3 separate regions of the Homo sapiens genome follow, and all the other regions are linked to region 1. The links are contacts of gene promoters, found by promoter capture Hi-C in blood cells and fetal thymus (Javierre and others, 2016). All regions are on one chromosome and are shown on one strand. The core of a region is centred on a gene start or on the middle of the fragment in contact, and the rest is flanking DNA. Distances in the headings are between cores, read along the strand shown.

Region 1 (2,725 bases), core at 147-2,646:
TTATAATATTTTTGTGTGTGTTTCCATTGTGTTGTGGTGAAAGGCGATAAGGCATTCAAAGAAAACGGACGGGCCTCCGCTGAACCAGTGAGGCCCCAGACGTGCGCATAAATAACCCCTGCGTGCTGCACCACCTGGGGAGAGGGGGAGGACCACGGTAAATACCAGTAAAGGAATCACTGCCTACACGGTGTCACCCAGACACGCACAGACATCAACATTTTTGCCCTAAAGAAAAAAACTGGGGGAGAAGAAAGGGGAGAACTTAAACTAGTGACAGGGCGGTGAGGGAAGGCATGAAGAGGCAAGCCGGCGCGTAACCGTCTGGCCAGCAGCTCCAGGTGTGGGCTCCGCTCGGGCGCTGGCGGAGAGACCCGGGAGCGCAGGGCCTCTCCGTCTCTGGGCTCTTGGCGCCCTCTGGTGGGAATTTCTCTTTCAACGCATTTTTACGGCGAGGGGCTTCTCCCAACGCAGCGGTTCTTTTAACTACGCCTAAATATTGCAAAGGGAGAATCCTTAAAGCGCGTGAAATCGAAGGGGGAGCGGGCCAGGGCAAGGGGGGCTGGTCCGCCCCTTCCGGGCACCTCTGTGCTCGGGTGCCCCATGCGCGTGCAGCGGCGCTCGTGCGTGTCATCAACCTTCAAACGTGATTAATCAGGAGGCCTTCTTTTCCCATCACCAAGGGGGCCAAAGCGAGGAGCGAGCGCATAGCAAAAGGGACGCGGGGTCCTTTTCTCTGCCGGTGGCACTGGGTAGCTGTGGCCAGGTGTGGTACTTTGATGGGGCCCAGGGCTGGATGAGGAAACTGTAATTCCTCCATGGTCTAAGAGGTCTCCCCTCATTTCTGCCTCCTTTGCGGTTACAACAATCCCAGCTCCGTAGAGAGCCAACGAGGACACGACCCAAAGCGCGCTTTCGCTCAAGGAAGCGTCGCAGGGTCACAGATCTGGGGGAACCCCGGGGAAAAGCACTGAGGCAAAACCGCCGCTCGTCTCCTACAATATATGGGAGGGGGAGGGGAAATGGGAGAGGGGAAAGGAGGGGAGGGAAGAAGAAACGCTCAGAAAGGCAGAATTCTTCGTAGGAATTATCTTTTCCCTCCTCTCACCCGACAGCCTGCCTATTTCCAAAGGAAAAAAAAAAAGCGTGTTGAGTACGTTCTGGATTACTCATAAGACCTTTTTTTTTTCCTTCCGGGCGCAAAACCGTGAGCTGGATTTATAATCGCCCTATAAAGCTCCAGAGGCGGTCAGGCACCTGCAGAGGAGCCCCGCCGCTCCGCCGACTAGCTGCCCCCGCGAGCAACGGCCTCGTGATTTCCCCGCCGATCCGGTCCCCGCCTCCCCACTCTGCCCCCGCCTACCCCGGAGCCGTGCAGCCGCCTCTCCGAATCTCTCTCTTCTCCTGGCGCTCGCGTGCGAGAGGGAACTAGCGAGAACGAGGAAGCAGCTGGAGGTGACGCCGGGCAGATTACGCCTGTCAGGGCCGAGCCGAGCGGATCGCTGGGCGCTGTGCAGAGGAAAGGCGGGAGTGCCCGGCTCGCTGTCGCAGAGCCGAGGTGGGTAAGCTAGCGACCACCTGGACTTCCCAGCGCCCAACCGTGGCTTTTCAGCCAGGTCCTCTCCTCCCGCGGCTTCTCAACCAACCCCATCCCAGCGCCGGCCACCCAACCTCCCGAAATGAGTGCTTCCTGCCCGCCCTAGTCCCTGCTCTCCACGGGTGCGCTGCGCAGGGACCCCCCCCCCCCCGCCTCCCTCGTCACTCTTCTTATCCCTGCCCTCCGGATTCACGCCCCGGGGAAGCACGGAGGCTGAGGCTCTAGTTGAAGTGGGGCAAGAGCGATTTTCCCTTGAGCTTCCATGCTGCGAGCGCCTGTCCCTCCAAAGGGCGCCTGGGCAGCAGCAGCCGAAGGCGCTACTAGGAACGGTAACCTGTTACTTTTCCAGGGGCCGTAGTCGACCCGCTGCCCGAGTTGCTGTGCGACTGCGCGCGCGGGGCTAGGAGTGAGGTCGGAGGGAGGGTGTGGAGGCGATGGCCGGTGGGCCCTTCTCTGTGGGGTCCTCGATCTACCCAGATTAGCCCGCAATCTCTCTGTCCCGGGGCCTTCGGGCGCCATCGCGCCAGCGCCGAGAGTCGAGCAGGGGCGCCGCGCAAGATCTTTGTCCGCCGCCTCCTGCGCGCTGCGCGCAAGTTCGTTTCCCCGGTGACGTTCCCCATGCTTACTTACCCCACCCTCTCTGGATCTGTACCGCGAGAAATCTGGGGTCCTCAGGGGGCTAGGTAGAGGAGAAACGCTGAAACCGGACCGAAACCTCGCCCTAGGCTTAGCGATGGCTAAAAACCGGCTGGGATAAGAGGGAGGCAAGCAACATTCCGACTCGCTGCTTTCTGGCTGTCTGGAGTGCAAGGTGACTGTGGTTCTTCTCTGGCCAAGTCCGAGGGAGAACGTAAAGATATGGGCCTTTTTCCCCCTCTCACCTTGTCTCACCAAAGTCCCTAGTCCCCGGAGCAGTTAGCCTCTTTCTTTCCAGGGAATTAGCCAGACACAACAACGGGAACCAGACACCGAACCAGACATGCCCGCCCCGTGCGCCCTCCCCCCGCTGGCCCACACGCCGGCTGCTGAGTGCCCAATGGGGCTTGTAGCGGCTCGGCTGGAAAATCGCTCACTGAGCGCTCCCCTGTGCTCCTAGCCTAGTCCCCCACACCCTTGCGTCTTGTACTG
Region 2 (2,725 bases), core at 146-2,645, 290 kb before region 1:
AAGTCCAGCCAGGCCAGGCATGACACCAAGAGCTAAAGACACAAACAGCTCCTAGGCCTGTTCTTCACGGAAGCCTTTATAATGTGCCTTCTCTCAGATAAGGTTTCCAGAACCCATCATGTATGTCACCAGGAGGAGGACACAGCTACAGGAAGGAGTGGACCATGGCAAAGGGAAGGCCTAATAGAATGAAACTCACCTTTCTTATTTTCTTCCACATTGATTATGGGGAACTTCCTTAAAAGTTTTAGTCAAAGATTTCAAGAAAGAAGCAGGTCATTAGAGAGTTCTTTGCATCTTTTCACCTGGAAAAGAGAAAGTCTTAATTTACAATTTTAAACAAAATTTTAATTATTTTTTATTATTTTATTTTGTGAGATCGCTTAAGATTTTTGAGACTTGATAAATTAAATTCTTAATACTCCCCCAGTGGTCTCAAATTGTCATTGGGCTTCTTTTAAAGTAAAGTACTTTAGACTACTTGCTTAAAAAGTCAGAATAGCTCATTTAAGGGCACTTTAGGAAAAGACCTAATATCTCATATTAGAATAACAAAGTTTACAATTTCTAATGTGGTAGAAAGATCACTGAGCTTGGTTGGAAGACTTGGTTTCTGATCCCAGCTAACATTTTCCAACTGTTTGACCTTGGGCAAGTCAGTGAACCAGTTTGGAAAACAACTTCAGCCCCAGTCTGACTTCCTCAATCTCAACTGAGGTCTGACTTTACTGAGAACACCAGGACAGTGCTCTGAGCTCTTCCACCGCCCTTCTCTTCACCTTAGAATCTCTCCTTATCTTCGGCTGTCCTTCCTTCCTTTGCTCCCATCTCACAGACCCCAGATCCTCTGCCTTGTGCAGTGTTCCTGCCATCCAGGCCCTACCACTATCAGGTAGCACCTCCCCTGCTTTCCCATCTTTTACACTCTGCTATCACTTTCCATTTTGCTTATACCTCCCCCCATACTAAAAAAAAGCCTGCCCTTGGCCTGTCCTTCCTTCTTTTTGCTTTTACCACCAGACTTCCTCCAACTGCTGTCCAGGTCCACTGCCTCATTTCCTCACTAAACCAACCCCTTTCTCCCTAATCCTGAAATCTGATTTGTGTCCCTACAATGTCCCTAAAACTATTCTTGGGAAGCACAGCTCCCAGTTGCTAGAGCTTTATGTTCATCAGACTCTGCAGCATTTAGTTCCATGGGCCATGCGTGCTTTCCTTGAAGAGCCCTCTTCCAAGGGTATCTGTAGTATTGCCTTCTTCAGGTGCTTGCTCAGAGGTATTCTCAGTCTTTGTTTTCTCTGGTTCCATTCTTCTTCTCTTCCGCTTACCATTAAAATAAAGGCAATTCTCCAAGTCTTAGATTCTCTCCTTTCTCTCCTTCTCACCCTGGATGATACCATCTCTCACCAGTGTGTTCTGGTATCAAGTCTCTGCTAGGTGAGCACGAGTCGCAAGTCTCTGTTCTGAGCTCCACACTCCTACACCCAACTCACAGTGGACATATATTCCTGATTCACACACCAAGACTTCAACAGAAAAGCCCCTCCTAAAGCACCTCCTCCACTCACCCTTCCCACTTCTATGATTGACATAAACACTGTCTTGTGACCTGGCCTTCAAACCTGGCACAGTCACTCTTGACCCCTACCTCTCACTTAATCTCACTTCCAGTCATTTTCCAAATACTCTTTCCTGGTCCAGGACTGCCATTATCTCTTTTTCTTTCTCCTTCTGTCTTTACAGTCCAGCTTTCATTTCTCACACCTGATCAATTGTCTTACAACATATTCTGACTTGTTCAAAGAACTTTAATGGCTTCCTATTTTAGACCAAAAAAGGTTCCGACTTCTCAGGCTGCTGTTCCACGCCTCTCTCTAGCTCACTTCAGTTTGTCCTCCAGGCTCACCTCCACCTTGTCCCTAATACACCTTATGGCTAACCAGAATCAGACTTCTTATTGTTCTACCGGTGCACCTTCCTCTCTTCTCTCTGCCCATTCCTTTCTGTTCAGCTCTTACCTTTTGGTCAAGACACATTATCATATCCCTTTCCTCCATGAAGACCTAATTCTTTTTAATACTCCTTGAGCTGTAGCCCTTTTGTAACAGTACTACTCAAAGTGCTTTTTCACAACAGGATAATGAATTTGTGCCCAAATGTAAATCAACTCACTGCTTTCTTCATTAAGAAACTCTTGTTACTAAAAAAAATCAGCTGAACTAAACAATGTACTTGGTGATGAATTGATTTACATTCTGGCACTAGCCCCTTATGTCATTGTGAGTAGTAACAGTTCACAGACTGGGTCCTCACACCACACTTTGGTGTTTCAATCTCTCTGGTGCTCTTCATATTTTGCCTGGTGTTATGGTTGACCTTGTGCTAGCAAGTTAGCTTCTCAACAGTGAGGACTGAGTCTTACTCTTTCTTGTATCCGATATACACAATAGCTACTCAATAAGTTTATTGAGCTAACTTTCAAAGCCACTTCTCAGCACTCAGATTTTTATGAGGGAAGTGTTTTTCTTGTCAGTCTTTGGGTAGTGGCAACAATAAGAGGATCCCGAATAACTTACCAAACAGTGGGCCAGGGTATCCCTGATCCAGGGACTGGGATTCTGTTGTCCCCCTTATGTTTGTCAACTCAGTGTTCTGTGAATCAACAAGGGCTGATAGGAAGGAGTTTTTGGGCAGAGGGTGGGGTGGGAGTAGGGAGGGGTTTGGG
Region 3 (2,725 bases), core at 63-2,562, 270 kb before region 1:
AAGGCAAAAACAAAAAACAACAAAAAAAACAAAAAAACAGCAACAACAACAACAACAACTCTATAAAGGAGTTGAGGAAGTTAGATTTTTTAAGAAAACTGACTTGTACCATCTTCTTAAAAGCAAGGTGTGTTCTAAGAATCAGTAGTGCCTCAACATGGTACAGAGGAGAAGGGTCCATTGTTAAAATAATGTCTAGAAGATGTTTCCAATTCTTTTCCTTTCTTGGAGTCTCATTGAACATATTATTAAATTAAAGTTGCCGGAAAGCCTCTCGGGAAAGAAACCTGGCTTGTAGGCTAATCTAGTATTTTCTAATTTATTTGCCTGTAGACACTACTCCCTGACCTCTGCCGCTGACTTTTCTTAAACACACACAAACATTACATTGAGCTGCCTTCGATTCTTCCAAAGGCTTGAATGAAGAGGGAATCAAACAGATAAGCTGACTCCCTGTGGAGAGTTGGGAGGTGTCTGCCATTGGCTTTGGATTCTGAAAAGCCACACAAGCTAGAGGAGTTGTCAAGAGGTTCATTTTTTGAGGGGTCAGGAAAGGCATAAATTAGGGGTCTGGCAGTAATTCAACAGCTAAACTCTCTTTCTTAGACTTTCTCCTAGAGGATCTTAGAATCCACCCATCCTATAGGTGTGTCACAGCTACTGGGACTTGCCTAGGCCAGACAGGAGTGAGTCCTTTGGGCCAATGCTTAGATACTGAAGGGTATAGAATATATTATGGTTCAGAGGAAGAGCAGAGGATTTGGAGTCAGACAAACACGGGTGAATGCCTTAGCTCTACCAGGTATTTACCATGATACCTGGGAAAATCTCTTAACCTCTCTGAACCTCTTTGTTTATCTGTATGATAGATACAATTAAAGTACTTAGACCAAATGGTTGTGAAGCTTTCTTAAATATTTAAAAGCATTTTTTTTAAATGAAGTAGTATATAAATGATAGTTAATTTAATTTTAATAGTAAGAGTATTCTTACTGATCTACATGGCCCCGCATTTTGTGGATTGACTAATCATTGTTTTATTTATTCAAATGGTCAATATTTACTGAGCATTTTCTATGTACCAGGCACTGGGTAGGTGCTTACACAGAGCGTGAAATAGAGCAGATCCAGTCCCTGACTTAATGTAGCTTACATTCCATTGTGGGAGACATATGATAAGCAAATATACACACAAATAAATATAGAATTATAGTCCCCTCCTTCCAGGTACTGATGTGGTAATTTTTAAATGGGCATATTGCTTATAATATATATTTTGAAGGTAATATCCACAAATAAATATACGGAAATGAATTTGTCAGCTTAAGTAAAGAATAAGATTATTAATATAGAACTGGAAGAGACCTTAGGAATAATTTATCTCAATCTCCTCATTTTATAGATGAGGAAAACTAGGACCCCGAATACTACAGAAACTTACCCAAAGTCACATGTTTGTTGTGTCATGTGTGTCACATGTGTGCGTGTGTGTGAGGCAGGGGTCAGAACACAGATTTCCCTTCTTTACTCAGTGCTTTCCACTCTGCTGGTTCCATCTGAAAGGCATTATGAGTGGCTCCTATTTTATCTGTGTGTTATAAGTACACTCTTATACAATGTGTTCTGATTATCAAAAATTGGGGACCCAGACCAATTGATTTTTCCAAACTTTGTTCCATGAAGCATTAGGATTTTATTAGATGTTAATAGGTTATCACTTTAAGCTTCTTGGTCAAATTACTGTTGGAACTTTATCTTTACTATAGAGATCCATAAATGTATATTGTAATTTTAAAAGATTATTCCTGCAGTAAGGAAACCTTTCAAACTACGCCCAACCTAACATTCCCCAAACTTACTTGATTACGGAATCCATTTTAAGTTCTGTAACTGTGAATGTGATTCATGTGCTGTGCAGGAAGTGTAGCCTTAGCATCCATTTAGTTGGCTTCTTGGTAAAGGTTGTGGAAGCCCAATAGAGCTCGCTAAACCAAAGCCAATCACACAACTTTAAAAGGAGCAGTTTCTTGGGTCTTAGGAATTCAGGCAGACTGTGGATGTGCTGTAACATGTAGGAGCAACACCTAGTAGGACTCATTTTCTTAAGGTGACCATGTCCTTTTAACCAAGGACTGAAATGGGAAACCATGGAAGCATAAAAAGTATGTTTTGATATATCTTTGAAGAAAAACAGTCCTCTCTAAGTTTTTCTATTATTATTTTCAAGTCTTTTAAAATTATTATTATTGTTATCTTTTCAGGCATTCACAAGCCCAGAGTTCTCCAAAAGGGTGCGATATCTTCGCAGGACATGCAAACAAGGTAGCTGGATATCTTGATTCCAAAGTAAATGTGTATCACTCCTTCAGACTCATCCAAGTTCATAGGCATGAAGCTTGTCTGCGGCTGCGTGGTTGGACCATCCAAACTTGAAACTGTTAGTGATATTTTGAAGTCTTTGAGACAAAAGCCCAGCTTGCTGAAGAACTTTGGTTCAGTAGAGAGACAGGGAGGTACAGGGGAGAGAGAATCAAAAGCCTGGAAATTTGCTGCTGAGAATAAATGTTAGCTGCTCCCTGAGGTGATTTGTCTGTGCACTCCACTCTCTACAGATGTTAGAGCCTCTTTTTGAGTAAGGACCCGAGGTTCTTTGGTAGCACTTTGATATCCTGCTCGAATTCAATATGTGAAATGGAGGCGTCTCTCTGTGACTTGGAGCCCACAG

The links. Contacts are between HindIII fragments. The CHiCAGO score rates a contact against its expected background, and 5 or more counts as called.
Region 2: a contact is called between a fragment that was not itself captured here and the fragment with the promoter of GAD1 in region 1, in 4 of 17 cell types (naive CD4 T cells, total CD4 T cells, non-activated CD4 T cells and 1 more). The highest score is 6.7, in naive CD4 T cells.
Region 3: a contact is called between a fragment that was not itself captured here and the fragment with the promoter of GAD1 in region 1, in 1 of 17 cell types (total CD8 T cells). The highest score is 5.4, in total CD8 T cells.

Annotation. Positions count from the first base shown.
Region 1 is chr2:170,815,491-170,818,215 of GRCh38, forward strand. GAD1 (glutamate decarboxylase 1) reads left to right here and starts at 1,397. Exons shown (of 17, transcript NM_000817.3): 1 at 1,397-1,558. GAD1-AS1 (GAD1 antisense RNA 1) reads right to left here. Exons shown (of 4, transcript NR_197761.1): 2 at 2,228-2,425; 3 at 1,364-1,542; 4 at 1-995. RefSeq lists a silencer at 1,212-1,291 and an enhancer at 1,379-1,548. The HindIII fragment of the contact is 11,655 bases long and covers 1-2,725 here.
Region 2 is chr2:170,520,758-170,523,482 of GRCh38, forward strand. All of the region lies in intron 30 of MYO3B (myosin IIIB), which reads left to right. Among named protein-coding and RNA genes, the nearest start is that of MYO3B-AS1, 170 kb to the left of the region's middle. The HindIII fragment of the contact is 9,195 bases long and covers 1-2,725 here.
Region 3 is chr2:170,540,645-170,543,369 of GRCh38, forward strand. It overlaps MYO3B (myosin IIIB), which reads left to right. Exons shown (of 35, transcript NM_138995.5): 31 at 2,262-2,322. Among named protein-coding and RNA genes, the nearest start is that of LINC01124, 170 kb to the right of the region's middle. The HindIII fragment of the contact is 819 bases long and covers 904-1,722 here.